Linked DNA regions of Homo sapiens: all the other regions are linked to region 4. The links are contacts of gene promoters, found by promoter capture Hi-C in human tissues and cell types (Jung and others, 2019). All regions are on one chromosome and are shown on one strand. The core of a region is centred on a gene start or on the middle of the fragment in contact, and the rest is flanking DNA. Distances in the headings are between cores, read along the strand shown.

Region 1 (7,634 bases), core at 4,218-6,717, 170 kb after region 4:
TTAGCCGTCTGGCCCTGCCCCATGTGTCTTCAAGGGGACAAGACTGGAGGGCAGAGTGGAGGAGATTCAGGTGTCCAGGCACCTGCTGCCAGGTGGGAAGTGTGATGAGGCCTCTCCCCACACTCCCTGCTTTGTGGAGGAGGCTGAGCGCAGCGGCCCTGGCCCGAGAGAGCCCTTGGGGTGCACGTGCCCCAGCAGGTGCGTCTGTGCAGGAGGCTGAGCGCAGCGGCCCTGGCCCGAGAGAGCCCTTGGAGTGCACGTGCCCCAGCAGGTGGGAGGCCAGCCCCACCCTGGATCACACCTGCCGTCCCTGGCGGTTCTGAGAAATTGCACTGTGAATGATGAGGTTCAGCTGGACTTTCTCCTGATAGATTCCTGCAAGTTAATTGAAAATAAAATGCACAAGCTTTTCTTTTAATGAGAAAAGGCAGATGTAGCTGGAACTAATCAGTGGGGGGCTGGGGCAAACTCAGAGACTGTGGAAGGAAAATAGAAGTTTGAAGGCATTTGAAAAACACGGCAATTCTCCCCAAACAGTGCCACGGTGATGCATTAATATCCTGAGTTCCGAGTTGTTGCTCCCGAGGCGATGACGACCCGTTACCCGGCACAATTCCCAGTTCCACTGTCGTTATCTCTTAATTAAATCACATTACTGTGGGTTTGCTGTCACAGTTTTACTGATGGTCCCTAGGAAGCTGCTTGGAGAGCCAGGAGCTGCAGCGTTCGGGGGCTGGCCTGGGCCTGAGGTCCACGAACCACGGCCCCTGGGCCCCTTCCAGCTCTGCTCCCCACCCGCACCCATCACTCTGCTCTTGGGGTGGTCCTGGCCCTGGCTACATCCCTCCTTCCTTCCCATGGACGTTCTTAGAAATGGGCTTGGCTGGCCGGGCGCGGTGGCTCACACCTGTCATCCCAGCACTTTGGGAGGCTGAGGCAGGTGGATCACTTGAGGCCAGGAGTTCGAGATTAGCCTGGCCGACATGGTGAAAACCCACCTCTACTAAAGATACAAAAATTAGCTGGGTGTGCTGACGCATGTCTGTAATCCCAGCTACTGGGAGGCTAAGGTACGAGAATCGCTTGAACCAGGGAGATGGAGGTTGCAGTGAGCTGAGATTACGCCACTGTTCTCCAGCCTGGGCCTGGGCGGCAGAGCAAGACTCTGTCTCAAAAAAAAAAAAAAAAAAAAAGAGGAAAGGGCCTGGCCACAGTTCGGCAGCAGCTCTCGATGCTGAGGGTGTCAGTGGCTGGTCCTCAGGCGTCTGGCCGTGACCTTCAGCCGCGTTATTCTCTGCACTCAGCCGAAAGACCCCCCCCGAGGTCTCGTGATTAGAACTCCCTGAGCCCTGGAGACCTGCTGTGGGAACCCGTTGTGTTAGCGTCTGTCCTTGTGTAACAAGGTCACCACAAATCTTGCAGCTCAAAACGACACACATCTGTCATCTCAGTCTCTGTGGCCAGCGGTCTGGCGCCACTTCGTGGGGTCCTCTGCTGGGCCCACAGGCTGCCATCAGGTGGCGGCTGGGCTGGAGGCTGAGCTGGGGCAGAGTTCACCTCCACGCTCACTCAGGGTGCTGGCAACCATCCGTCCTTCCAACTGTAGGACTGACGGCTTCATTTTCTCACTGGCTTTTGTCCAGAGGCTGCACTCTGGTGCTAGAGGCCACCGAAGGTCCCAGGTACGTGGTGTTGCCCAGCACGGCTGCTGTGTTCCCGCAGCAAAGGAGACAGCGGCTCCAGCAAGGCAGGGTCACAATCGTGCGTGGTGTGGTCGTGCACACACACTTAGCCACGGACACTCTATCGCTTTGATCCTATGATGTGGCTTAGGAGCAAGAAACAGGTCCCGGCAACACCCAAGGGGAGGGGACCAGGAAGGGGCACAAACCCCCGAGCTGGGAGCGCCGACAGGTGAGGGGCACAGGCTCCAAGTGCATGCTGGGGATAAGAAAGGCCGAGGTACCCACGCTGGGTTTGCAGAACAAGCCCGAACCCCACCCCCTCCTCTGTCCAGTCTGAACCACACCCCTCCTCTGTCCAGGCTGAACCCCACCCCCTCCTCTGTCCAGCCTAAACCACACCCCTCCTCTGTCTAGCCTGAACCCCACCCCTCCTCTTTCCAACCCTGCCCCCTGTGAAGTTTCCTCAGCTTTTGCTTTTGTTATCGTGGGCATCCAGGCCCTTTCTGTTCAGTGTCCTCCTTCCCACACCCACTCCCCCTCTGTCTTCCTCAACATCCATCCCTTTGTCATTGAGAATCCAGACAGCGGCTGTTTCTAACCTCTTTCCAGGGTCAGAGTAGCCCTGGTGTGTGCCTGGCTGGGCTCCAGGCCTGCGCCTCCCGGGTTCTGGGGGGGCTCTGGGATGTGGTCCTGCCAGCGGCCTCTGACAGGGGACGTGGGGCACCATGTGCAACCCCTCTCCTCCCTGGAGCAGCTTTTCTGGCCCAGAGGCTGGGAAACATCTTCCCCTCAGGGTTTGGTCTTCATTCTTCTTGTTCCCGCTGAGAAACCACAGCCAGGTGGGCGCTGGAGGGAGCTGAGGGGCACCTGCCTTCCCGTCTCCTCTGCTCCTCCCAGGGTCACCTGCCCACTCGGCCGCAGGCTTGGCCTGGGCCTGGAGTGCACGGGCCATGTGTGGCCTGGGACTGGCACGCACGGGCCATGTGTGGCCTGAGACACGGTGTGATCACTTTCTGTATGATTTACTTCTGGAGCCCTGATCCTTGACTGATGATCAATGTGAGGTCCTTGCAAGTAAATTCTACCTGTCAGGCTAGATGCCAAAACATGTAGCATTCACAGAAAAGAAAAGTCTGGGCCGGGCACGGTGGCTCACACCTGTGATCCCAGAGCTTTGGGAGGCCGAGGTGGGCGGATCACAAGGTCAGGAGATTGATACCATCCTGGCTAACACAGTGAAACCCCGTCTCTACTGAAAATACAAAAACAAAATTAGCCGGGCCTGGTGGTGGTCGCCTGTAGTCCCAGCTACTTGGGAGGCTGAGGCAGGAGAATGGCGTGAACCCGGGAGGCAGAGCTTGCAGTGAGCCGAGATTGCACCACTGCGAGATCGCACTCCAGCCTGGGCGACAGAGCGAGATTCCATCTCAAACAAAAACAAAAACAAAAAAAGTCAGAAGTGACCCTGCTCCGCCTCCTCCAGATCTGCATTTAGTGTGTGGACCTTCATCTGAGTCTCTGAGGAGGTGGTGAAATGTGGCTTCTCTTCGAGGTCACACCTGCCTGGGGGTCCCGTGTGGGGTCTGCAGGGTACCCAGGAGGCAGGGAGGGTCGCGGGGGAGGGGACTGGGGTGTTTCTTCGCAGCCCGGGGCGCGGCGGCTCATGAGACCTCCGCGGGGAGGCAGGAGACAGCGTGGCCTTTCCCGGGGCTGGTGGGGCTGGTGGGGAGGAAGCTGGAGCCCAGGGCGGGGGTCCGGGGGATGGCGGGGTGGGGTCGAGGACCCTCAGGTGCAGCGGGCGCCTCTGTGAGGGGCCGGAGGGGGCCACTTCTTCCCTGGACCCCGAGGCCCCGCAGGGCAGGACATGGCTGGGAATCTCCCAGGGCAGTGAATGAGGGGCTCCTGCAGGGTGGGCCCATCTGCCTCATGGGGGGCCTGAGACAGGGGTGGGACCTGCCCTGCCCTCAGGGCCTGGCCTCCCCTCCCCTCCCCTTCCTTCCCTCATTCATTCATTCGTTCATTCATTCATTCACCCCTCTTGGGTCCTCCTGGCCGCACTGGGCCTGGCATGGGGGGGGTCCCTGCCGGGCTCTCCTGGTTGCCGCCCACCGTTCCCCCAGGACCCCGTAGCCCTCGCGGACCAAACCACACCTGCGCAGGGAATCGGCTCTGTCCCCTGCCCCATACTGGTGCTGCCCCCACGATCCCAACGGGAGTCCCCAGAAGGCCGCCATGGGGTGGGGACGTTGAACCCCATGGGAGGGCACAGGGCCCAGTGGTCCCTGGCTGGATGTCCCAGCAGAGGGGTCAGGGGTGAAACAGGGACTGCGGTGGGACCCCCGGGGAGTAGCCATCAGGGCTGGGACACCTGGGGCAGTGCATGGGGGCCCTGGCTGAGGACGGGGGCCTTGGGGTGAGCCTGGGGCTGGGGGTCGGGGCCTGCTCTGGAGGGGAAGGCTCGGGCAGAGCTGCTCAGAGACATTCCATGTGATGCCGTGGAGCCCCGGGATGGCCATGTGGGGGGCTGCGGACCCCTGCCCTGCCTGTCCTGCCTGGAGCCCTGTGGGTGGGGTAGGGGTGAAGGGCACCTGTGCTCCCCACGGAGTGGGCGCTGCCTCCTGCCCTGCAGGCCCTGCCGGACACTCTGGAGAGGCTCAGAGTGCAGACCCCGGTTGGCCAGAGGGGAGCAGGGCGAGGTCTTCCCCACAAGGCTTGGTCGCTGTGACTGGTGGGATGGAGGCTGCAGCCGCAGGGACTTTAGGCTGCTGCAGCCTTGGCTCAGAAACTGGCCCTTCTCAGGACAATTGGAGGGTGCCCCCACTTGCCTGCTGTCGCTGGTTGACTCATTCCAGAGCACTGCTCACATTTCTGCCAGGCTCTTCCCCACCGGGAGCTCCTGGAGGCTGACCCCTGCCTCCCCCGGGGGCTGCTTCTGTCCTAGGCCCCCTACTTTCCCCTGGCACTGAAGCCTTTCTTCCCTGTATGATTGTCTTGATGGAGAGGGCAGGAGGCAAGGCCCCCTTACTGGGCGTCCAACCCGGCTGCTGTCCTGGGAACAAGCTTGTCAGGGGAGGCTGGGGTGTCTTTCTCCCGGGAAAAGCTCTGAGAACCCAGGGCCCAGGCTGGACGCAGTCCAGTTGGTGTCCCCAGGAGGGGAAAGGAGGTCCTTTTGAGCCCCTGTATGGCTCCAGGGGCACGGCCCTGCCTCCAGGCTCACCTTCCACGAGACGCCCCCTCCCCACAGCTCTGTGCCTGGGTGGGGCTCATGAACGTCCCCTGTGCTGGTGGGTGGAGGATGTGGGACTACCTAGGGTTGCCGGGCAGGATAACCCTAGGGATTGTGGGTCCTTCAGGACTCCCAGAAGCTGGGTCTGGAGCAGGCTCGCTTGACGGACAATCAATAGAGAAGCTGCATGTGTAACCAGGCCAAGTAAGGCAGCCTCTGTGCCCTGAACACCTGTGGTTGGGAGCACCAGCTCTGCCCTGTGTGCTGTGAATAGCGTCACACACACGCAGTTGGCTCACATCACCTGGAGACAGTGAGAGCTAATTAGGAAAACTCCAGACAGGCCCTGAGTACAGAAGGTGGAGGGCCCTGCAGCCTCCTTCCTCTGGGGCTGGGGCTGGGGCTGGGGCTGGGGCTGGGGCCGGGGCTGGGGCTGAGCCCACGGTCCTCGGCCTGCAGGGGGTGGGGATGGCACTGGTTGTGGGGACCCCAGGCGTGCACTGGGCACCCAGGTGCTGCTGTCCTTGGTCTCTTCCTTCCTCTGGGGCTGAGGCTGAGCCCAAGGTCCTGGACCTGTCAGTTTCCTCCTTCCTCTGGGGCTGGGGCTGAGCCCAAGGTCCTGGGCCTATGGTAGGTGGGGTGGTACTGGTGGTGGGGACCCCAGGCGTGCACTGGGCACCCGGGTGCCATCGTCCTGGGTCCTGTAGGCAGCCTCCTCCTGGGGAAACAGGAAGACAAGGGCAGCATCTGACCTCTAACCTCTGAGCCCAGGGGCCTCGGGTGTGTGTAGGGGTCTCTGGTCCAGTTTCACACTCCATGAAAATCACCCCTGAAGGGCTGCCTGCCTCCCAGCAGAGGCCTGACCTGCACCTTTCAGGCTGAGCTGGAGCCTCTAAGCCTCACAGCACCCAGTCCCTTTCCCAGGGGCAGGCTTTGTGGGTTTAGACCCCCAAGCAGCCCTGCCTGCTCCCTCTGCCTTTAGCCTGCATGAGACAAGTGTAAATCATACGTTATTGTAAGAAAGCTAAGTCAAAAATTCAGGAAACCGTTGAGTTCCTTCCATATATCAGGTGCTGTTAAAATTGAGGGTGGGAGGAGGGAGAGGATAAGAAAAAATAACTATTGGGTACTAGGCTTAGTATCTGAGTAATGAAATAATCTGCACAACAAACCCCCATGACAGGAGTTTACCTGTATAACAAACTTGCACATGTACCTCTGAACCTAAAATTAAAGTTAAAAAGAAAAGAAAACAATAGTTCCTAATTAACAGCAATGAGCTGTTACCACGGGCCAGCTAGTTTGCTGGAAGAACTAAGTAAAGAGATAGCTAAGAAGTGCCCTCCTGGGTCAGAATCAACCTAAGACTGGAACTCAAAACTATTTCTGCCTGGATTTAATTGAATTAGTATGCTGAGCAATTAATGCCCCAGGGCTTAGTGAAAAACAATAGAGCGACCAGCAGGTAATTAGTGGAGCTTAACAGGCTGAGGGTAATGGCAAATGAGGCAGAGAGCTTAACAGAGAGATCAGGGAAAGAGACAGGAATAGCCCCAGTGAAAACAAAACTGCTGTCATCTAGGGTGGTTGTGTATACACCCAAGGCTGAGCCCACTAGAGAATGCCACTGAAAGGGGAAATGCCATTCTACGGGGGAAATAAATGTTACTAAAGTAACCTAGCCAAGTCAGAAATAAATACTCAAACAACAACAAAAACAAGCCCTAGGGGGTGGGGGGTCGGGAATCAGTATCCAGAGTTACTATAAAATATTATTTAAAATGTCCAGTTCTTAACAAAACCTAAGAGACATTAAAATAAATAGGAATGCATGACGGATACACAGGGAAAAGAGCAGTAACAGAAGCTGCCCATGGGAGGGATCAGATGCCAGACTTAACAGACAGGGACCTCCAAGTATCCATCATTAATACAGTCAAAGAAATAAAGAAAACCATGCAGAATTGTTATATGTAAATGCTTGCTCCCCGGTGCTGCAAAGAAATAGCACTTGAACATAAATTTAATTCTCTCAGCAAGGCAATCTTTACTTCCTGCAGAAAGGGTGCTCCTCGCAGATGGAATAATGGTGAGAGCACACCTGAACAAAGGAGGGAAGCAATTTTTATCCCTTATGCAGTTTGTCCCTGTTACTGTGTCCTGTCTCCATTGGCTAGAGCCAGACAGCACAATTTAAACTAAAACCCGATTGGCTAACAGTATAAAACTTTTCTAAATAGGTAAAAGTAATGGAAGGATAAAGGAAAAGAGGAAGCTGCTTATGAAAGAATTAGAAAAGTAATAACATTCCCAAATAAGGAAGGGGTATAGGCTGCGAGCTGGGACATGCCTGTGAGCACGTCCAGCACAGATATCTTGGTTAAAGTACAAGGACACAGAATGTACTACATGTCCATGAGCATGTCTAGCATAAAGTTAGTCTTTAAAAGAAACTATTATTTCTAACACTCATGATTTATTCTTTAACAAGAAGGGAAACTTTGAAGAGGAACTTTTACTTTCTACAAGAAAGAAGTAAAGGAAGACATGAAGACAGTGAGAGTATGAATAGAAACTATCAATAGAGACTCAAATACAGACTATGAATAAAAAGAAACTATGAAAGAATCAAGTGAAAATGTTGGAGTTGAAAAATAATTGAAAAAGATTTTTTTAGAGGGGGTCAATGGTGGTTTAGAACTGGCAGAAGAAGGAATCAGTGA
Region 2 (6,910 bases), core at 775-3,274, 130 kb after region 4:
CCTGGGCCGCCCCATTGTGCCCAGGAGTCCAGGCTGGTGCCTGGTCCCGCAGCCTTTGCTTCCGTGCAGCCCACCGAGGCATCCTCTGGCTGTGTGGGCCTCCCTCTAGGTGGACTGCCCTTCTGTCCTTGTCTTCTGTGCCCTGAGGACTGAGCTGTGAGGAGGTTGCCAGCAGGTCCACTCACCATTCTCAAAATAGCTTCCAGCGCTTCTCTTCGCACACAGTTGTACCATTTTCACTGTAGAGCAGTAAGTTACCTTTTTAGCTTTTTTTTTTTATCAGTGGCTTCCTCCATTGCCATTGGGTCACAGGGCTGAGGACCCCGCACGGTTATTGGGTCACAGGACTGAGGACCTCGCATGGTTGAGGACCTCGCATGGTTGGAGCTGCTTGGCCCTCCGCTGTGGTGAGCGTGGCTCCTCATAACACCCAACGCTTAGCAGGAGCCTTTGGAGACCATTTTTGTTGCTTTGTAGCTCTGGAATCATTTTATTTTTATTTTTTTTCTGGGGCCATTGTAAGGAAAACACAATGTGACTGAGACACAGGTGGCCTCGAATCACCTGTTACACCCAATGTTCACAATGACTCAATTGATGAAAAGGGCGTTTCCTGTGAGCTGATGGGAAGGTGGGTGGAGAAGCAAGTGGCCTGAAAGTCCACTCCGAGGTGAGGCGGGTGGGGTCCTGCCCCTCAGAGAAGTTGGGGGTCTCTGGAGAGGTGGGGCGGGCGGGGTCCTGCCCCTCAGAGAAGATGGGGGTCTGTGGAGAGGCGAGTGCCAGACTGGAATGGGGAAGTCATTAGGGAAGACAGCCACAAGCAAGCTTGTTGGTTGGTATAGAAATGTGACTTACGATACTTATAATAGGATGAAAACCAAGAATCAGACATTTAAAAACCCAGCATGAACGTTCTCATCAGTAAAGCCTCTCCATCATTTTTCTTAAATATAACCACAATATTTTCACACCTGAAAAGAGTAATTCCTCAATGGCAAATACACAGTCTCACTTAAACTGTAATTTAACAGTCTGTGTGTTGTGTTTATATTTTGCTTCCACTTGAAGCAGCTTGAACAAGGCTGTAGCCGTTGAGTGCCAGGCCCCTGAGACTTTAGTGTCTGAAGGAAGGAGATGCCTCCTGGGCTGCACTGTTGGCCCCGGTCTGCCCCTTGTACAGGCCCTCCCGCAGGCTCTGCCGTAGCCGCGACTCAGTCTGCCGAGTGCAGAGGTTCGGGCTGTTGCTGTGAGCTGGCCCTGCCAGGGCTGACTTCCCCGGGGCTGCGTGTCAGCTGGGTGGGGGCCACGCCACAGCTGGGATTCCAGCCTGTCTGATGAGCCTGTGGGACGGATCTGCAGCTGGCAGAGGGCTTGTCTCCACCCTGTGCTGAGGTTGGTGTCTGCTGACATGGTGAGGCAGGTCAGTGCAGTCAGGAGGAGCAGGGTCCGCACCGTGAGCTGGTGAAAGGGGCTTGCATTTCGAGTCCTTGGGATTTCCAGTCACAGTGATGCCCTTGCCAGAGGCTCCGGGGCGTCCCCTTTAGTCCAGGGCAGCTGTGGTCCCTTGAAGTGCACGTGTGGAAGTCCCCCTGCCGTGCACGGGCGCTGAGCACGTGGAGAACTGTGGCCCTCAGGAAAGGAAGGATGCATGTTCCTCGGGGTAGAAGGTGCGGAGTACGCAGCTTTGTCCCTTCAGGATTGCAGAGGACGGAGGCTTGAGGCAGGGTTGTTGGAGGGACAGTGTGGTTGCTGCTCGTGAGCTGAAATGTCTGCCTGTGTTACGCTGTGATTTTCCAAAGCGTCTTGTGGCTTCGATACAGAAACCTTTGATTGACATAGCAGGTGGCCAGGTGGGCAAAATATTGCGGAATTGTTCTTGCAGACTTAACTAGGTTTTAGTTTCTTAGAGTAGCTGGTTTGGATTAGATAACCATTTTGCCATTTGGAATATGTGACAAGTTCCAGGGACTGGAATTCTAGGATCCTGACTGATACATTGACGGGGTCTGAGAGGCTTATGCCCGAGTTGTATCGAGCATGTTCTGAGCTTTTCCCATGTGCAGTTCAGTGACAGCCTGAGATGGCCCAGAGTCAGTGAGCTTTGAGAGGAGTCTTCCTTCTTGTATGTCAACTTCCAGTCACATTTCCACTCGAGGGACGGGTTGGGCTTGCCTGTTGTGTCGTGGAGCCTGGAGGCTCAGGTCCTGTTTTTTTCTGATTTTATGGATGAGGAACTGAGGCACTGAACGGTCCGGGGGCCTCTGTGGTCCCGGCTGGGGGAGGGGCCTGTGTGGTCCCGGCTGGGCAGGTGGCTGAGCACCCAGACGACAGCGACCTCTGTTCCTGACCACGGCCTCCTTTGTGCCTCTGGTCAGTGCTGCAGGAACGCATCCTTTAGCCTGCGTGCTGGCGGCTGGAGCCCGGCCTGCATGTGGAGCTGCCGCAGAGAGGCCAGGGGCGTGTGGGGTGCATGCATGGCTGAGACAGGGCCACAGGGGCCCGCTTTGGGATAGACCAGGGGTTAGGGAAGTCCCTGCAGCGTGGAGATGGTTATGAGTCCCACATGGGGCATCCTAGCTGGGCCGAGAGCTGGAGGTGTGGAGGAGGGGTTGTGGACCATGGTTGGGGAGGGCCTGCTGCAAGGCAGGGACGTCTGCACGTCTCAGGGCTCCTGCCAGACAGGAGTGGTGGTTCTGAGGGTTGCACCAGAAGCAGGAGATGGGGGTTTACGGTGCCCGTTAGATAGCTGTGGAGAAGGTGGGCTGTAGGTGGTTGGGGGAAGGGGGGTCTCCCGGAGGTGCTGGGAGGAGACTCCTTCAGGCTCCATCTCTGCTGGCCGGGTGCTGTTGCACCCATAGAGGCCAAGACTGGGGTTGACCACTGGCCTTGGCCCTGCAGAGGCCATTGGGATTGCAGTGAGCAGTTGAATGTCGTAATCAGGGCGAGAGCTCGGGGCGGGGGGGGGAGGCTAGGAGGTGGAAGAGGAGGCAGGAAGTGAAGTGAGGCCCCAGGCCCTGTGCCCCAGACACCAGCTGCGTCAGGACGCTGCAGGCTCAGTGCTGAATCCCCTCCTGCTGCTGTACAGGCACCAGGGATGCTCATGAGCAGCCTTTCAGCAGCCCTTCTCCGCATTGCCCAGTTCCCTCCGGCCAGTGTTCCCAGGTGTTTCACAAACACCTTTTCCTTAAGCCTGTTGGCGACATTGAACAGGAGGGAGGGAGTTTTGTCACCTCGCATGTGCCCCTGCCTTGGGATCCAGCATTCCCACATGACAGCTGTGCTCCCTGCGGCTGACACGGGAGGCTTTTTGTTGAGGTGAGGCTTCCCCCTTGTATTTGAATTGGCTGTGAGGTGCTCTAAGGCGCCGAGTGTCATTTAAAATCAGAGGCACCTCGCAGCCGAAAGCACTGCTGCCCGGCGTCATGGCCCAGCCTTGGGAGAACTTTCTTCAGCCTCAAAACATTGCTCTGAGTCCTGTTAAGTTGTGTAGTTTTGTATTTTCAAAACAACTTTTTGAATGACAATAGTAACCATACATACTTCAAACGGTTTTAGGAAAGTTTGCAGGTTTAATGAAATGAAAACTGTACCCAGTGATAATATATACTAAGGATTATTTAAAGTGTTTTATGTCACTTTAAATAATCACAAAATCCTTGGTTTTATGTCACACTTCCTGTTGTCAGTACCGGTCCTGCTTGGAAGGAAGCCTCAGTGGCTGGGCTTGGCTTGTTGTGGCGTCGCCTCGCCCTGTTAGCCTCGTGCCAGAGCCTGTCCGGCCCCCTGGACTCGGGACAGTGCACAGAGCCCCACAGACCAGCCCCAGGCCGTCCTCCTGACCTCGGGCTTTTTACCATTTCACACTTCCGGTTTTTATAATGTCAAAAAGACTTTAAAAAGAGGTTAAAGCCGTCTTTTTCCAAAGACTTCTTATTTTTAAAAGTCAGATTTTTTTTTCCTGAAAGCTCCCATCACAATATTTGGGAACGTGGCACGGACTTCTGTGCTGTGGGGAGCGGGGCTTTTTTCCCTGCCTTTCTTGAAAATCATCCACAGCCACTCACCACTCCCTGTTTTTTTTGTTTGTTTGTTTGTTTTTGCATTTTTGACTTAAGACCTTGACCAGAGATCAGATTTAATGTTGCCTTCCTTTTATTTGCTAACTTCGTGGCCCAGTAGAGCTCTGTGGGAATGCCCGTTTAAGGCCCCTTTAGTTATGTGAGATACCTTTTCTTCCTCAAGGTAAGTGAATTATTCATTGCAGAAACTGTCATGAACTCGAGTGACGTGTTTAATATTGGCGCATGTGAAATAATCTTTCACAGTTTTTTTCAGAGAGTAACTGTGTGCCTGGGCACTGCACCCAGGGCCGCAGCCTTTGGCGTTAGGGAAGCACACACAGTGTGGCCCGAGCCCACGGGGCCCACACTGCCGAGCAGACAGTACATGCGATGCCTTGTTTCCTTAACTGAATTAGTATTTTGGTGGACTTCACATTTATAGTAAGTTTTATAATAGATTTTATAATCTTCAGTTTTCAAAAATCACTTTATTTATAATTTTTTCAGGAGATAAATCTCCCCCTAAACTTGAACCATCAGATGCATTACCTCTTCCTTCAAACTCGGAGACTAATTCAGAACCACCAACCCTCAAACCAGTAGAACTCAACCCAGAGCAGAGTAAACTTTTCAAAAGAGTCACATTTGATAATGAATCACATAGCGCTTGCACTCAGAGCGCACTGGTAAGCGGACGCCCTCCAGAGCCCACCCGCGCCAGTAGTGGCGATGTGCCGGCGGCGGCGGCCTCCGCGGTGGCGGAGCCAGCAAGCGATGTAAACAGACGCACTTCTGTTCTCTTCTGCAAATCGAAAAGTGTAAGCCCCCCAAAGTCTGCCAAGAACACTGAAACCCAGCCAACTTCTCCTCAGCTAGGGACCAAAACCTTTTTGTCTGTAGTCCTTCCGAGGTTGGAGACTCTTCTGCAGCCAAGGAAAAGGTCGCGGAGCACATGCGGAGACTCCGAGGTGGAGGAGGAGTCCCCAGGAAAGCGCCTGGACGCAGGTAAATGCCGCGGGCGGCCCTGAGAGGCGCCCTTGCCGACCAGTGCCTGGAGCGTCCTTCAGGATCATTGGTGTGACGGGGGGGGGGGGGTGTCCAGCTTCTGTTTTTGCAGCATTCTCTTAATTTCCAGAGAAGACAACAGTGCAGTGTTTTCTTTGAAAAGCCTTGAGTTGCGGGTCTGAGGCCGGCGCCTTCGTGGGGGGCCTGTTTGCCACGAGAGATTGTGCAACCTTGCTGGGCTGCCCTGGGCCAGGGGTCGATGGTCCTTGGTCCTGTCTTCTGCCACATACTTCCTCTCTGATTTTTTTTTAAGAGAGTCTTGCTTTGTCACCCAGGCTGGAGTGAGTGGCTCACTGCAGCCTCCAACTCCTGGGCTCAGGTGATCCTCCTGCCTCAGCCTCTTGTGTAGCTGGGACTACAGGTGCACACCACCACTCCCAGCTAATTTGAAAATTTTTGGTAGAGATGGGGGTCTCGCTGTGTTGTCCCGGCTGGTCTTGAACTCCTGGCCTCTGACTCCCAAAGTGTTGGGATTAGATGTGTGAGCCGCTGCACCTGGCCCCTTCTGATCTTTAAAAAAGTACTGAGAATGAATTCAGGTGTAGTTTTAATTGGTCATCTTGACTTTGCTGTGCACATCTGGATAAGCTGGTGACTGGCCGCTCCCAGCACTTGTGGGAGCTCGACTCTGCAACCCTCAGTCAGGTCTCCTTGCAGCCCCACAGACCTAGGACCTGGGGTTGAGCCTGGCCCTTCCCTGGACCTCTGAGAGGACCTGCCCCTGTGGTAAATGCAGTACTTTGCAGTTGATTTCAGCAACATTTACTCATTGTTTTATGTGGCCCTCTTAGCCACATATGTGATGAGGTATTAGGACCTGCTGAAATAGCACTGGAAAGCGCTTCTCATCTCTTGCTGCGCTTTTGTAACTGAACTCTGTTGAATTCCTCGGTGAGGGTGTTGCCGTGTGTGTGCTGTGCTGGGAGCACTTTGAGGAGGCCGCTGTGTTCCTGCAGCCTCTGCTCCCCGCCCCTCAGAGGAAGCTGAGGAGTTTGTCCTTTAAAGAGGAGCAGCTGTCATCGGTTTGCTTCTTCGGTACTGGCTGCGCTTCTGGAGGTGCCGGCTCAGGTTGCCAGCGACTCTTTTCTGGAAGCGTGTCTGGAGCATGTTTGTCATTTTGGTTTTTGTCCCGAGTCAAGGCTTGGTTCCCGTCTGTCCTGTCTGCCTGTTATACCTAGATAAGGAGATGCGCATTTTCTCCTGGCTGTGCTGGTGTGCCGTGGTGCCTCGTGCACTTGAGCAGTGAGAGAGGGTGGGGCTGGGTGGGTGTTGCTTATTTCCCAGAGTGGCAGCAAGTGAGTCCTGTGTCATGGAGCCTCACCAGGCCGGGTGCAGATGGAAGGCTGTGGTGGGCAAGACCTGCCCAGGCCACTCCCTCACATCTTGTCCCTGTTCCTTCTGCTGGTCTCTGGCCTGAAGCGTCCGGGGAGGGGAGTGAGACCAGGCACTGTCAAAGGTCTTTGTGCAGAAGGAGGCTCACTTCCTACCCTTGCCAGCAAGCAGGTCATGCGTCTTGTTGCCAAAGTAATTTCTGGTAAATTTCATTTTGATTTGTATGAAAATTTTGCACGTAACTGAATGTGTAGAAATTTTCTACCCATGTCCTTTTACTTTGATGGATTGATGTTAAATTGGCATTTTAAAATAATTTGAAAAAGCTTTTTTGCTTTCTAAGTAATAGGAAGCTATTGAAATGTTTCACAAGATACCAATAAGAATAGATGTCCTTGACTCAGGACTGGGGGATGTGTCTTAACCACGTTGGTCTTTCTTAGCCACCTTTG
Region 3 (6,540 bases), core at 127-2,626, 250 kb after region 4:
CTGGACGCTGGTCGAAGGGTGCCACCTGCCTTCCTTTTCATCTGGGGTCCCGGCCACACCCCCACGTCCCTGCTGCTACCCTGTTTTGTTCCCCTCCGTGTGACAGGAGCGCAGGATTTGCGTGGGGAGGGCAGGAGGTGACGTGAGGGGCTGGGGGTGCAGAGGACGCAGGGACGGCAGGGGCCGGGGGTGACGAGGGGCGTGGGTGGGGCTGGAGGGGGTCAGGGCTTGGCCGGCACCAAGACTCAGCCCTGTGGGAGCAGATGGTGGTCTCCAGCCTCCCTCCCCATCCCCAGCCGGGGTCTGGGTTCCAAGTGTTCAATCCCCTCCCCTCAACCAGCCAGTGCTCCAGCTGGAGCTAGCAGAGGCTCCTGCAGGAAACGCTGACCCCCGGGTTGAGAGCCGAGGGCTGGCTGGGGCAGGCTGCCCGCTGGGAGGGAAGCGCTCTCCCGGGCCGGGTGACAGGTGGCAGCCCACGCAGCCGTCACTCACTCTCAGCGCCTCCTCGGCCTGGGCGTCCGCTCTGGCCACGCCCGAGGAGCCCTGCATCCCGCCACCGCGCTGTGGGGGCCCCTCTCTGGCTGGCCGAGGCCGGAGCCGGCTCCCTCTGCTTGCGGGGAGGTGTGGAGGGAGGGGCGCGGGCGCGAACCGGGGCTGCGCGGCGCTCGAGGGCCGGCGCGAGTTCCGGGTGGGCGTGGGCTCCGTGGGCCTCGCGCTGGGAGCGGCCGGCTGGCGCCGCGGGCCGGGCAGTGAGGGCCTTAGCACCCGGGCCGGCAGCTGTGGAGGGTGCGCCGGGTCCCCCAGCAGTGCCGGCCCCCCGGCGCTGCGCTCGAATTCCCGCCGGGCCTCAGCTGCCTCCCCGCGGGGCAGGGCTCGGTACCTGCAGCCCGCCATGTCCGAGCCTCCCTGCGCCACCCTGGGCTCCTGCGCGGCCCGAGCCTCCCCGACGAGCGCCGCCCCCTGCTCCGCGGCGCCCAGTCCCATCCACCGCCCAAGGGCTGAGGAGTGCGGGCGCACGGGACTGGCAGGCAGCTCCACCTGCAGCCTCGGTGCAGGATCCACTGGCTGAAGCCAGCTAGGCTCCTGAGTCTAGTGGGGACTTGGAGAACGTTTATGTCTAGCTAAGGGATTGTAAATACACCAATCAGCACTCTGTGTGTAGCTCAAGGTTTGTAAATGCACCAATCAGCACCCTGTCCCTAGCTCAAGGTTTGTAAATCAGCACTCTGTATCTAGCTAATCTATTGGGGACTTGGAGAACCTTTATGTCTAGCTAAGGGATTGTAAATACACCAATCTGCACCCTGTGTCTAGCTCAAGGTTTGTAAATACACCAATCAGCACCCTGTCCCTAGCTCAAGGTTTGTAAATCAGCACTCTGTATCTAGCTAATCTGTTGGGGACTTGGAGAACCTTTATGTCTAGCTAAGGGATTGTAAATACACCAATCAGCACTCTGTGTCTAGCTCAAGGTTTGTAAATGCACCAATCAGCACCCTGTGTCTAGCTCAAGGTTTGTAAATGCACCAATCAGCACTCCATGTCTAGCTCAAGGTTTGTAAATGCACCAATCAGCACCCTGTGTCTAGCTCAAGGTTTGTGAATGCCCCAATCAGTGTTCTGTGTATAGCTAATCTAGTGGGGACTTGGAGAACTTTTCTGTCCAGCTCAGGGGTTGTAAACGTACCAATCAGCACCCTGTCAAAACAGACCAATCAGCTCTCTGTAAAATGGACCAATCAGCAGGATGTGGGTGGGGACAGATAAGGGAATAAAAGCAGGCTGCCCAGGGCCAGCAGTGGTAACTTGCTGGGTTCCTTTCCCAGCAGTGTGGAAGCTTTGTTCTTTTGCTCTTTGCGCTAAATCTTGCTGCTGCTCACTCTGGTCTTTGGGTCAGTACTGCCTTTATGAGCTGTAATACTTACTGCTAAGGTCTGTAGCTTCACTTCTGAGCCAGCAAGACCATGAACCCACCAGAAGGAGGAAACTCGGAACACATCCAAACATCAGAAGGAACAAACTCCAGACGCACTGCCTGTAAGAACTGTAACACTCACTGCGAGGGTCTGTGGCTTCATTCTTGAAGTCAGTGAGACCATAGAACCCACCAATTCCGGACACAGGGATAGAGCAGTGACCATCTAAGGGCTCTCAGGGCCAGGCCGGGAGCCAGGAAGAGCAGCTGCGTCGGAGCTGGGCAGCTTTTGGGGTCCGTGGGTCACTGTCAACTGGACTTTGCATCCAGGAAGCGTTGGTTCCTTTTACAGAGTGTCACTGTGATAGTGGGGTGTGTTCGTGTTTTACACGTTTAAAATGGTGCTGGATGCCTGACAGAGCCCTCATGACTGTTTAACACATTTTCTTGAAATCACAAAATTGACTATAAAATGTTCCTCGGAAGTTTTCCAGACTGCGGGCATCCTGGAACACCGGCCAGTTTTCACCTGTTTCTGGACGTTGTGTCGTGGAGCCGTCTTTGTAAGGGACTCGGATCACGCGTTTTCTTTGCTGAGTCGCCTTCCACGTGGCTTTGTCTGTTCTGTGGTTGGGGCGTCTCCTCCCTCCCACACGGGGTGTGCTGTGCCACCCTTGGAGGGCCTTCTCCCATCGGGCCCCGCATCTCCCGCCTGGCCTGTGGAGTGGAGTCCCCTGCCCTTGCTGCTGCTGTGGCCTCATCTCCCAACTCAGCCTTGGCCTCCAGTGACAGGGCTGGAACCCTGGCAGCAGAGCCACCACGGCAGCGACTCAGCTGTGGCCTCCGGTGACAGGGCCGGGACCCCAGCAGGACCTCCACCATGGTGGCAAGGCCTGGACCCCAGTGTGGGATCACGCTTCTGCAGGTGCTGGGGGGCTGCATGGCCGACTTCAGGGGGCAGGAAAATGATGCTTTGTCTTTGGAGAGGGAGGATGTGGGACAAGCTGCCAGGTACTTAGCTCCCCTTCTTCCACCTGCGTGTGCTGAGCCGGGGGCCCTGGGTGGTCAGGACCCTGCCCCTGCCCGCCCCCCCGCCCCCCCCTCGCCCCAACTTGAGCGCTGAGCTGGGAGGCCCCAGGGTGGTCAGGACCTCCTCCCACCTGCATGTGCTGAGCTGGGGGCCCCAGGATGGTCAGGACCTCCCCCCACCTGCGCGTGCTGAGCTGGGGGCCCCAGGGTGGTCAGGACCTCCTCCCACCTGCGCCTGCTGAGCTGGGGGCCCCAGGATGGTCAGGACCTCCCCCCACCTGCGCGTGCTGAGCTGGGGGCCCCAGGGTGGTCAGGACCTCCCCCCACCTGCATGTGCTGAGCTGGGGGCCCCAGGATGGTCAGGACCTCCCCCCACCTGCATGTGCTGAGCTGGGGGCCCCAGGATGGTCAGGACCTCCCCCCACCTGCGCGTGCTGGGCTGGGGGCCCCAGGGTGGTCAGGACCTCCCCCCACCTGCATGTGCTGAGCTGGGGGCCCCAGGATGGTCAGGACCTCCCCCCACCTGCGCGTGCTGAGCTGGGGGCCCCAGGGTGGTCAGGACCTCCTCCCACCTGCATGTGCTGAGCTGGGGGCCCCAGGATGGTCAGGACCTCCCCCCACCTGCGCGTGCTGGGCTGGGGGCCCCAGGGTGGTCAGGATCCCCTCATGCTGCGCTTTCTCTCGGTGCCTCCACCGTCCCTGACCTGCCTTGTCCTGCAGGACCCCAGGCTGGCTGGGCCCATTCCGGGTAAGGCTGGGCTGCTCTCAGAGGGATGGTGTAGGTCCTCAAAGCCTAAGCCGAACCAGCACGGGACCCTGGGGAGCCGGGGTGGAGGGGTGTGGGGGGAGGGTGGGGGTGTTGAGGGGGAGGGTGTGCTGTGGCCGCTCAGTGTTTGGATTTGCATTTCCCTGTGACTTGGAACAGGAAGCGCGTTTTCCGCCCGCGGATATTTCCTGTCTACCAAGTTTCAGTTCAGGACTTTTGTCTCTTCTCTGTTGCTTTTGGTCTTTAAAGAGCTTCTTTTGTTTTTTTGTTTTTCTTTTACATGTTGTGGATAGTTTTTGGGTGAACATAAGCTTTCACTTTTAATGTAGTTGAATTTATCAATATTTTCCTTTTATGGGTAGGAGTTTTTCTTTGTGCCTTTTTAGAGAAATTCATTTCTACTCTGAGATCATGAAGTTATTTACTGCCTGCCTCCCTCCCTCCCTTCCTGCCTTCCTCTCTTTTTTGGAGATGAGGTCTCACTCCGTCTGGAGTGCAGTGGTGCAATATTGGCTCACTGCAATCTCTGCCTCCCACATTCAAGTGATTCTCCTGCCTCAGCCTCCCGAGTAGCTGGGATTACAGGTGCCTGCCACCAGGCCTGGCTAATTTTTGTGTTTTTAGTAGAGATGGGGTTTCACCATGTTGGTCAGACTGGTCTCGAACTCCTGACCTCAGGTGAGCCACCTGCCTCGGCCTCCCAAAGTGCTGGGATTTACAGGCATGAGCCACTGCACCTGGCCTATCTTGTCTTTTAAGAACTATAGAGTTTTGTCTTTCACAATTAGGTCTGTGATTCATGAGGAATGATTTTTGGGCATGGCAGGGGTCAGTGAGCTACAGCCTGAGGGCCAACTCCGGCTGACCACTTGTTTGTGTCAATAAAGTTTTATTGGAACATAGCCATGCACATATTGAGTGGTTGAGGCAGACGCCAACTAAGTGGCTTTCCAGGGCCCAAACGACTGTGGCCCTTTACAGAAAATATGTGCTGACCCCCGGGGTATGGTGTGAGGGAGGGTTCGGTTTTGTTACTGTTGCATGTGTATGTCCTGGGTCGCAGCATCATTCATAGAGGGAACTGCTTTTCCCCTGGCTCCATGGTTCTGCCCTTTCCTACATGGGTATCTACATGAGGCTGGCCCTGCTTCTGGCCACTTCCTTCTCTTCTGGGCTATTTGTTGAGCCTCTGGCCGACGCCACACTGTCTGTCACTGTGGCTTTATGACAAGTCCTGCGTGGTGGAGCCAGCTGTACTATCATTCTTCACTGCTTGCACTCTGGCATGAATTGTGGACTCGGCTTGTCAAGTTCCACAAAGATCAGCTCAGTAGACTCCTGGAGGGGAGCTGGCATCTTGGCTACCCTGAGTCCTCGAGCTGGTTGATAGGAACGTTCCTCCAACTGTGGTGGTCGTCTTTAAAGCTTCTCAGGAAAGTTTCATGAAGGTCTCTGGATGTCTTGGACTCTGTTAGATATACTTCTAAATCTCAACTATTTAAAAAATATTATTGCATATGGTATGTTTTAAAATCTTTCATTTTCTAGTTGTGGATTGCTGTAGAAATAATGGATTTGTTATGTTAATTTTGTCCTTGGCAGTCTTGTTTAACTCCTGTAATCCTATAGATTATTTATCTCATCATCTATGAATACATGCAGTTCTGTGTCTTCCTTTGGAACTCTTATGTATTTTTTTTTCGCCTTGTAAACAGGCCTCCAGCTCATTTCTGATGGGCGCTGATGGAAACAAGAATATTTGATTTTTCTCTTAATGTCAAAGAGGCACTTTCAGTGGCTGTGTGATGTCTTTTGTAGTTTTTTTTTTTTTGGTAGTTTTTTTACAAATGCCTTTCATTAGAGTTACCTTCTGTTCTTCATTAGCCAGAGTTTTTTATTTTGTCATGAAGGAATGATTTTTTTTCAGATTCTTTTTCTGTATTGATTGAGCTACACGTGATCTTTCTCCTCTCTGTTGATGGAGTGAATTGCTTTGATTTTGAGCATTCTATTCTCTTATGTTAAACTTTGAATTTCCAGGATAAATTCAGTGTGACCATGATGTGCTATTCTAGCATTTATTGGTGGATTCAGTTTGATGATGCTTTTTATGATTTATATATCTATGTGTATGAGTGGGATTGATAATGCTTTATGATTTATATATTTATTCAAGCTGTTTTGCCCACCTGCTGCCCACCTTCAGAGAGGGTGTAGAAAAGTGATGTGAGCCCCCCAGCGTCCCCGCTTGTGCCGTGGGTCAGGCCAGCCCCGAGTGAGCCACAGAGCAGCCTGCGGCCAGCGGGGCTGGGGGTCAGCAGGGTCTGGAGGGTCTGCAGGCCTGGGGGCGGCGCTGGGACTGAGCAGGCCTCCGAGCACGGGGGCGCTGCCCTGTGCTCCCCGGGGCCTGCCTGCCTCATGGCTGGATTTCCACCCACCTCGGCTGAGCAGAGAGTGCTGACGGGGCTCCTTGCTCTCCTCTGCTTGGTTCTGAGCTATTGAAATAATAAGGCAGGAAGCCAGAGACACGTGCCCACGTCTCTCCTCTGTCTTGTTAAGGAAAGCGGCGCTTCTGATCAGAAAAACAACACAAGGATCTCAGAGGCAGGACAGAGTGGGATCCGAGGGACCGCGTGGTGTTTCTGGCCCCCTTCCCTCTCGATGGCTGATTATTCAGAGTGTTCACACCCAGCAAAGGAGCAGGCTGCTCGTTCCCGACTGCAGCACGGCGTGCCGGGCCGCGGTGTTCTTTCTGGATCACTGGTTTCCTCAGCAGCAGCGCTAACAGCCGCCCGGCATGTCGGGCTCAATGCATCAGGTCTAATCAGAT
Region 4 (7,675 bases), core at 522-3,021:
CTTTCAGTGTCTTCACACAAAACCACTCGAATAAGTCAGGATATTCGCTCTTCCTGAGGATGGAGGAAAACATTCACTGAATCCCAGCAGACACGGTTCTTTAAAACAAACATGCAGCTGAACGTAACATATGCTCTGGAGTATTGTAAGGTCCAGGAAACAAGAGTCTAGGTGTGGACAGAATCTTCTCCTTAATTTCCTGGTTTTGATCGCTGACTCTGGTGATAAAAAACGGTAATGCAGGGGTAAGGTGGGTGCGAGGCAGGTGGGAGCTCCCTACTGTTCCTGTACCTTTCTAAGTCTGAGGTTATTTCAAATTCTAAGTTGGAAAATAAAAAGTATCTTCTAAGAGGTTTTAAGGCACTCACAGCTGCAGCCACCAGGCCTCCAGGTGCTCCTCCTGCGCCTCTAGCATCTGATTGCATTCGAAGTCGCTGCTCTCGCACAGCCCCTCCAGGATCTCCAGCAGGCGAATCTCGCTGAAACACAGGCCCACACCGGCCCACCGTCAGCGCCTCCAAGGCAGTGAAGAAAAATCCGAACCAATACGCCAACCTGGGTGCAGGGGCCGGGGAGCCAGGACTCCGGGCACAGAGAATAAGGGGACCCCACTGTCAGGGGAAGCCAGGAGCGGTTCCCACAAGTGGGGCTGGTGTTCCAGTTTACATTTTGAAAAGCCACTGTCTGTTGAGGGGGTAGGGACCAGAGCAGAAGCTGGAAGGCCAGAGAGGGGCCAGCCATTAGTCCTCAGGGAGAAGCCGAGGTGACTCGGACGGGTGACTGGTGCCTCGGGGGCTGTTCTGTCTCCCTGTCATTAACACAGGCACCAAAGGCAGGACACGACTTCCCAGGACAGCGCCAGGCCAAGACCCACAGGGGTGCTCCAGGGCACCCACCTGGACTCGTACTTGGACAGCGTCTTTTCCTCCCAAGCCGTGTTCCCGCCGCCAAAGTTCTTCTTTGCGGTGTCCACCATCCCCTGCGAGGAGACAGTGCCCATAGTGCTTGGTACCACCTGACCCGGGTCCAGGGTGGGGGCGAGCCCAGGTCGAGGGTGAGGGGACTCCAGGCCCACGGTGGCGTCGACCCTGGTTCCACGGTGGGGGTGGATCCGGGTCAAGGGTGAGGGGGACTCCAGGACCACGGTGGAGGGACTCTGGATCGACGGTGAGGGGGATCCCGAATCCAGGGTGAGGGGGACCCCGGATCCAGGGTGAGGGCGACCCTGGGCCCAAGGTGGGGCGACCCCGGATGCAGGGTGAGGGGGACCCCGGGCCCAAGGTTGACGACCCCGCCCGGCCCCTTCCCACCTGGTTAAACTTGTCCACCAGCCCCCGGCACCGGTGGCAGGGCGTCGGCTTCTTGGCGGCCTCCGGCGCGGGCGGCAGCAGCAGCAGAAGCGGCAGGAGCCCCAGCGCGGCCCGGCGCGGCAGGCGCATGGCGGGTAGCGCTGCGGGAAGACGCAGCCGGAGCTCCAGGTCCTGCGGCCGTGCTGCTCCGGCCTCCCGGCCGCCCACCCGCTCCCAGCCGCGCCGGCCTGTCCCCCAGGCTACTTGACGGCGCCGGCGAGGCCCCGCCCCACCCGCCAGCCCCGCGCCGCTATTGGTTGATGGGACCCGCCCCGGCCTGATATGGCCCAATCCGAGTTCGCCACGAGAGGTGACCAATGGGAAGGCCCCGGATCAGCGGCCGCCAGGAGTCCGGGGGCGGGGCGTGCAGGTCCGACCCCGCCTCCCGCTCCCCGCCCCTCGCGCGCAGCCCGCGGCGGCCATCTTTACTCAGGGCACAGAGGGTCTCTGCGGCCGTAGCGGCCGGGGCTGCGGTAGCCACTTTAGATTTGGGCAAGGACTTTAGATTCGGGCTCTGTTCTGTTTCCGCCGTCCTGCTTCCTGCCGAGGCTGGCCCAGGCAGCCGCGCTTCGAAGGACGCCGCCGGGAGCTGCGGAGGTCAGTGCGCGCTGCCGCGACCGGGGCCTTCAGGCGGGCGCGCGGCGAGACCAGGGAGGAGGCGGGCGAGGGCGCGACCCGAGCTGGCGCTGGCGCTGGATTCCTGAGGCCTCACCGCGCATGTCCACGCGTCACAGCCCCGTGCTCCTTACCTGGGGCTGCACCCCTCACTTGGGGCCGGGCTCCTCACCTGGGGCTGGACCTGTCACCTGGGGGCCAGACCTCTCACCCGGGGGCCGGACCTCTCATCCGGGGGCCCGACCTCTCACCTGGGGCTGGACCTCTCACCTGGGGCCGGGCTCCTCACCTGGGGCCGGACCTCCCACCTGGGGGATGGGTTTTTCACCTGGGGGCTGGGGATCTGGGGTCCACTTAGGGTCTCTGGGGGCTGGGGATCTGCATTTCTACAGGCGCTTGAGGTGATGAACACTCGCTCATGTTCAGGAACCCCTGGTTTAAATTAGGGGAAATAAAACGTGCAGCGTCTGGATTTCAGAGAACTCCTGCCTGTGGAAGGAAGGAGTGCAGATAACACTGCACATTTAAAAAAAAAAAAAGTAACATCTGATTTGACCAGTTTCTTTTCTGTTTTTTTGAGACGGAGTCTCACTTTGTCGCCCAGGCTGGAGTGCAGTGGCGCGATCTCAGCTCACTGCAAGCTCCGCCTTCCAGGTTCCTGTGATTCTGCTGCCTCAGCCTCCTAAGTTGGGATTACAGGCACCCACCACCAGGTCCGGCTAATTTTTGTATTTTTAGTAGAGACGGGGTTTCACCATGTTGGCCAGGCTGGTCTCGAAGTCCTGACCTCAAGCGATCTGCCTGCCTCAGCCTCCCAAAGTGCTAGGGTTACAGGCGTGAGCCACCATGCTTAGCCTGATTTGATCAATTTCGGTAGAGGCCTTAAAATCTGGATTGATGGGGACAAGAGGGTCTTTGCAGGTCATTCCCTAATCTGAGATGCCATTGTTCTGTAAACCACCATTTTAAAGTGTCATGGCCTGGGCCCGTTTTAACCTGTGGGTGCTCTCGAAGCACCCGTCACTTAGATTAGCCACAGCTGCTGCCCAGCTGCCCAGCAGAGTGGGCTAGTGCAGGACAGTGTCCGTTCACCCTCGCCTGGTGGGGGGTTCGTCGTGGTTTTCGTGCTTGCTGGTGTTGACTTGGTCTTCCCGTGCTCCTGGCAGAGAATCCAGACTCACCCTTGGTCTTCTCATGCCCTCGAAAGTGAGCTGTGCTGGTCATCAGCAGAAGGCACACCTTGTTGGGTCCGAGGAGGTGCTGGGGGCCCGCCAGGAGTGTCAGAGTCAGCACGTAATGTTTTCACCCCACAGCTGAACTCTTCCTTGCTGGGGAACTCCCCTGGGTGGAGAGGTGTGGAGTGGGGTTGTGGGGGACTGCCAAGCAGCACTTGCTGTGTGCACCTCCCACATCTTGGCACGTAGATGCTCCCCGTTCCGTTTTATTTTTTATTTTTGTAGAAATGGGGTCTCATGATGTAGCCCAAGTTGGTCTTGAACTCCGGGCCTCAAGCAGTACCCCCCATGTCAGCTTCCTGAGTAGCTGGGATTATTTTTGTGGAGATGGGGTCTGGCTCTGTAGCCCAGGTTGGTCTTGAACTCCTGAGTAGCTGGAATTACAGGCGTGAGCCAACACATCCGGCTTGCTTCCTATTTCTTTTTTTTTGAGACGGAGTCTGGCTCTGTTGTCCAGGCTGGAGTACAGTGGTGCGATCTTGGCTTGCTGCAACCTCTGCCTCCCGAGTTCAAGCAATTCTCCTCCTCTGCCTTCCAAGTAGTTGGGATTACAGGCGCACACCACCATGCCCAGCTAATTTTTGTATTTTTAGTAGAGATGAGGTTTCACCATGCTGGCTAGGCTGGTCTTGAATTCCTGACCTTGTGATCCACCCACCTCAGCCTCCCAAAGTGCTGGGATTACAGGCATGAGCCACCACGCCCGGCCGTTGGAACATATTTTTATTTAATTTAATTAATTTATTTATTTATTTTTGAGATGGAGTCTTGCTCTGTCGCCCAGGCAGGAGTGCAGTGGCGCGATCTCGGCTCACTGCAAGCTCCACCTCCTGGGTTCACACCATTCTCCTGCCTCAGCCTCCCAAGTAGCTGGGACTACTCGCCACCACTCCAGCTAATTTTTTTGTATTTTTAGTAGAGACGGGGTTTTACCATGTTGGCCAAGCTGGTCTCGATCTCTTGACCTTGTGATCCACCCGCCTCAGCCTCCCAAAGTGCTGGGATTACAGGAATGAGCCACCGCTCCCGGCTGCTGGAATTTTTAATAAGCACGTGAGCTGGTGTGATGAGAACCCCATGTAGGAGTTTTTACCGATTTCTTCTTCGGCAGCCTTGTTGAGTGCCTACTGTGCGGCAGGCTTTGCTGATTCAGCAGTGAGTCCACCAAGCAAGCCCTGCCCGCAGGATGAGTCCAGCAGGGGAGGTGGCAGCGAGGCAGCCTTCAGGCCACAGCGGCTGGCCTCTGTCCTTGGTGCTGAGGCTGCGCTGGTGGGAAAAATCATCCAGCATCAAAAACCCCCCACCGTCAAAAAGCTTGTGTCTTAGCAAGTGGGAGACAGCTGAGTGGGCCCTCCCTCAGTTAGTGATTCCTAACCTAGTCCTTCGACCTTTCTCTTTGTTTGATACCAAGTTTATTTTTTTAAATTTTTTTATTATCTATTTATTTATTTCTGAGACGGAGTCACGCTCTGTGGCCCAGACTGGATTTCAGTGGTGTGATCTCGGCTCACTGCGGCCTCTGCCTCCTGGGCTCAAGCGATTCTCCTGCCTTAGCCTCCCGAGTAGCTGGGATTATAGGCGTGCACTACCATGCCCAGCTAATTTTTGTATTTTTAGTAGAGACAGGGTTTCACCATGTTGGCCAGGATGGTCTTGATCTGCTGACCTCGTGATCCACCCACCTCAGCCTCCCGAAGAGCTGGGATTATGGGAATGAGCCACCGCACCTGGCCCTCAGCCTCCCAAAGAGCTGGGATTACGGGAATGAGCGACCGCGCCCGGCCCCAGGTTTTTATATTTGGCAAAGGAGAGAACTGCATACCATTTCAGTCGTAAAATTATTAAAGCTTTCTTTTTTCTTTCTCTCCACCCCCTGCCCACCATATCAAATAGGGTTCTCCTTCCTTCTAATCTACAGATTTTCCTTTGGTTGCCATCTTTGTATACTTCTTAACTCTCCGTTTGATCAAAAGATAGTTTTGGCTGGGCATGGTGGCCCACGCCTGTAATCCCAATACTTCAGGAGGCCAAGGTAGGAAGATGGCTTGAAGCCAGGAATTCCATACCAGCCTGGGCTACAAAGCAAGACCCTGTCTTTACAAAAAATAAGAAAACTTAGCTGAGTGTGGTGACCCACACCTGTAGCTGCGGCTACTCAGGAGGCTCAGGCAAAAGGATCCCAGGAGTTTGAGGCTGCAGTGAGCCATGATCACTCCACTGCACTCCAGCTTGGGTGACAGAGTAAGACGCTGTCTCTTAAAAAAAATTTTTAAAGTAGTTTTAATAAATGGTAAGCCCTGGGGTTCTCTCTCCCTTTGCTTCTGGCCCTTCTGGTTTGGATTGAATAAAATCAAATCTGTTTTAAAAGAAGCCAGAAACGTGAAGAGTTTGCCCCCTCCCCTCCCTTGGTCTCTCACGTGTAGCAGCTGGACATGTTGCTGGCCTCTCAGGAAGCTCCGTGCCACGGGCCCCTGAGGTTGTCCTGTTAGTGTTTGGGGGACCCATTGCCAGTCTTCCCAGGCTCACATGCAGGCTCATGGCCAGTGTGGTGCCACCTTTGGGAAAGCCGGCCATGGCTTCTCCCAGCCCCCAGGGTGGGGTTCGGCGCAGGCGTCCACAGCCCCATCCCACCATTCCTGGGAGCGGGGGCTTTGCTGGCCACTCGAGCCCTGTGTCCCAGCAGCTGTACTACGTTCAGTTTCTTGCCCTCCCGGGGCCCCTGTCCACCACTCTCCAGCTTGGTGCCTCCCACCCAGCTAACTGGCACCCCTCAGCCTCCCATTCCGTCTTCTTCAGCCGGTTCCCTCGGGGCCAAGCCTGGGTTTTGCTGACTCTCCTGCCAGATTTAGACTGGGGGGCAGGGGCCATTTACCACCCTCCATTGCCCTCGTGGCCCAGGCCTGGTCAGACTCAGGGTTCTGCGACTGAGATCCTTCTGCCTAGAAAAACATTCACAGAGCTGGAAGTGTCAGATCACTGGTTACAGTATGAAAGATTCTCAAGTGTGATTTTTTCTCCAAACTTTCCATCTTGATGCGTTTTCAGATTTGTAGTAGTGCGACTAAGACAGTAGTTCAGAGAATTCTGCTAACCCTTTACCCGGATCTCCCAAACGTGAGCGCAAGCGTGACTTTCGAACCTCAGGAATCTGTTTCCACTTTTCCAGCATGCGTGGAGTGGCAGTGCTAACGGCTGGTGTCTCGCACTGTTGGCCTGTGAAGGTACGTGAAGCTGAAAGCCTGGAATGGCTGGAAAGGGGTCATCAGGCAGGCGGCCCCTGCTGCTGGGGCTGCTGGTGGCCGTAGCCACTGTCCACCTGGTCATCTGTCCCTACACCAAAGTGGAGGAGAGCTTCAACCTGCAGGCCACACATGACCTGCTCTACCACTGGCAAGACCTGGAGCAGGTGAGGGGCCCCTGCTGTCTTTGGGGAAAACCTCATGTTACCAGCTGGCAGGGCCCCGGTGCACTGACCTGCCCTTCTCCTCGCAGTACGACCATCTTGAGTTCCCCGGAGTCGTCCCCAGGACGTTCCTCGGGCCAGTGGTGATCGCAGTGTTCTCCAGCCCCGCGGTTTACGTGCTTTCGCTGTTAGAAATGTCCAAGTTTTACTCTCAGCTAATAGGTAAGGGGGTCTTCAACAAAGGAGGAGGGAGTGAGGGACTGTGGTGTCATCGGGTGACCTCAGCGAGGCCGCGGTCCCTCCTGCCCAGGAACGCTGTCTGTTAGTCTTGCCTGCCCTCGATCACCGTGGCATGGCGGCTCAGAGCAGGTGCTCAGGTCAGGCCTAAGACGTCTGAGTCAGCCCCTCTGTGCCTCCACACTCTTGACTGTGAAATTAGGGGTGACGGCAGGTACAAGAGAAATGCCGACTGCCTGTGAGGCAGCTCTCGCCACCTGAGCCTGCTGCTCCCGCCTCACCTGGCAAGCCCCCATGGGGTCAACAGCCTTTATTCCTGCAGAAGCAGCACCATTTGCCTTGGGGAATGTTACAAACAGAAACCTCACATTCCCAGAGGCCACCACTGCAGGGCCTGTGTGCAAATCCTGGGTCTTTCTCTGTGCCCACATGAGGACTTTAAAAAAAAAAAATTAGAACGTTTTGTACATATTGTTCTAAAAACCGATTTTTTTTTCTTTTTTGAGACAGGGCCTTGCTGTGTCACCTAGGCTGAAGTGCAGTGGTGCAATCATAGCTCACTACAGCTTTGAACTCCTGGGCTCAAGTGATTGTCCCACCTCAGCCTCCCACAGTGCTGGGATTACAGGCATGAGCCACCACGCCCAGTCACACAACCTGAGTTTTTGAAGTCAGCAATCACCACTTTTTTATTTCAGTACGCTTTTATTGCTTTTAATACCCAGACATGCTTCCAGCGAGTCAGTCCAGCTTGTGTGGAGAGCTTTAAGAAGTAGCACGTTCCTGGGGAAGGAGCAGTTCTGCTTCTTGAAGGGGCAGATTGGGAACGGAAACCC

The links. Contacts are between HindIII fragments. The study calls those that stand out against the background at their distance.
Region 1: a contact is called between a fragment that was not itself captured here and the fragment with the promoter of ALG12 in region 4, in 1 of the 25 tissues and cell types used here (spleen).
Region 2: a contact is called between a fragment that was not itself captured here and the fragment with the promoter of ALG12 in region 4, in 1 of the 25 tissues and cell types used here (spleen).
Region 3: a contact is called between a fragment that was not itself captured here and the fragment with the promoter of ALG12 in region 4, in 2 of the 25 tissues and cell types used here (H1 embryonic stem cells and lymphoblastoid cells).

What each region holds. Positions count from the first base shown.
Region 1 is chr22:49,746,651-49,754,284 of GRCh38, reverse strand. No RefSeq gene overlaps it. Among named protein-coding and RNA genes, the nearest start is that of BRD1, 77 kb to the left of the region's middle. The HindIII fragment of the contact is 5,781 bases long and covers 2,577-7,634 here.
Region 2 is chr22:49,785,546-49,792,455 of GRCh38, reverse strand. It overlaps BRD1 (bromodomain containing 1), which reads left to right. Exons shown (of 13, transcript NM_001304808.3): 8 at 4,569-5,066. Among named protein-coding and RNA genes, the nearest start is that of BRD1, 39 kb to the left of the region's middle. The HindIII fragment of the contact is 3,563 bases long and covers 243-3,805 here.
Region 3 is chr22:49,664,670-49,671,209 of GRCh38, reverse strand. It overlaps LOC124905145 (a long non-coding RNA gene), which reads left to right and starts at 1,801. Exons shown (of 2, transcript XR_007068151.1): 1 at 1,801-2,840. RefSeq lists silencers at 365-414, 1,155-1,204, 1,763-1,963, 6,415-6,540 and an enhancer at 6,050-6,540. The HindIII fragment of the contact is 6,404 bases long and covers 1-4,578 here.
Region 4 is chr22:49,912,534-49,920,208 of GRCh38, reverse strand. ALG12 (ALG12 alpha-1,6-mannosyltransferase) reads left to right here and starts at 1,771. Exons shown (of 10, transcript NM_024105.4): 1 at 1,771-1,946; 2 at 6,366-6,605; 3 at 6,692-6,824. The coding sequence starts at 6,444. CRELD2 (CRELD disulfide isomerase 2) reads right to left here and starts at 1,575. Exons shown (of 10, transcript NM_024324.5): 1 at 1,311-1,575; 2 at 897-979; 3 at 369-479; 4 at 1-53. The coding sequence starts at 1,439. RefSeq lists silencers at 1,372-1,871, 1,982-2,181. The HindIII fragment of the contact is 10,539 bases long and covers 1-4,780 here.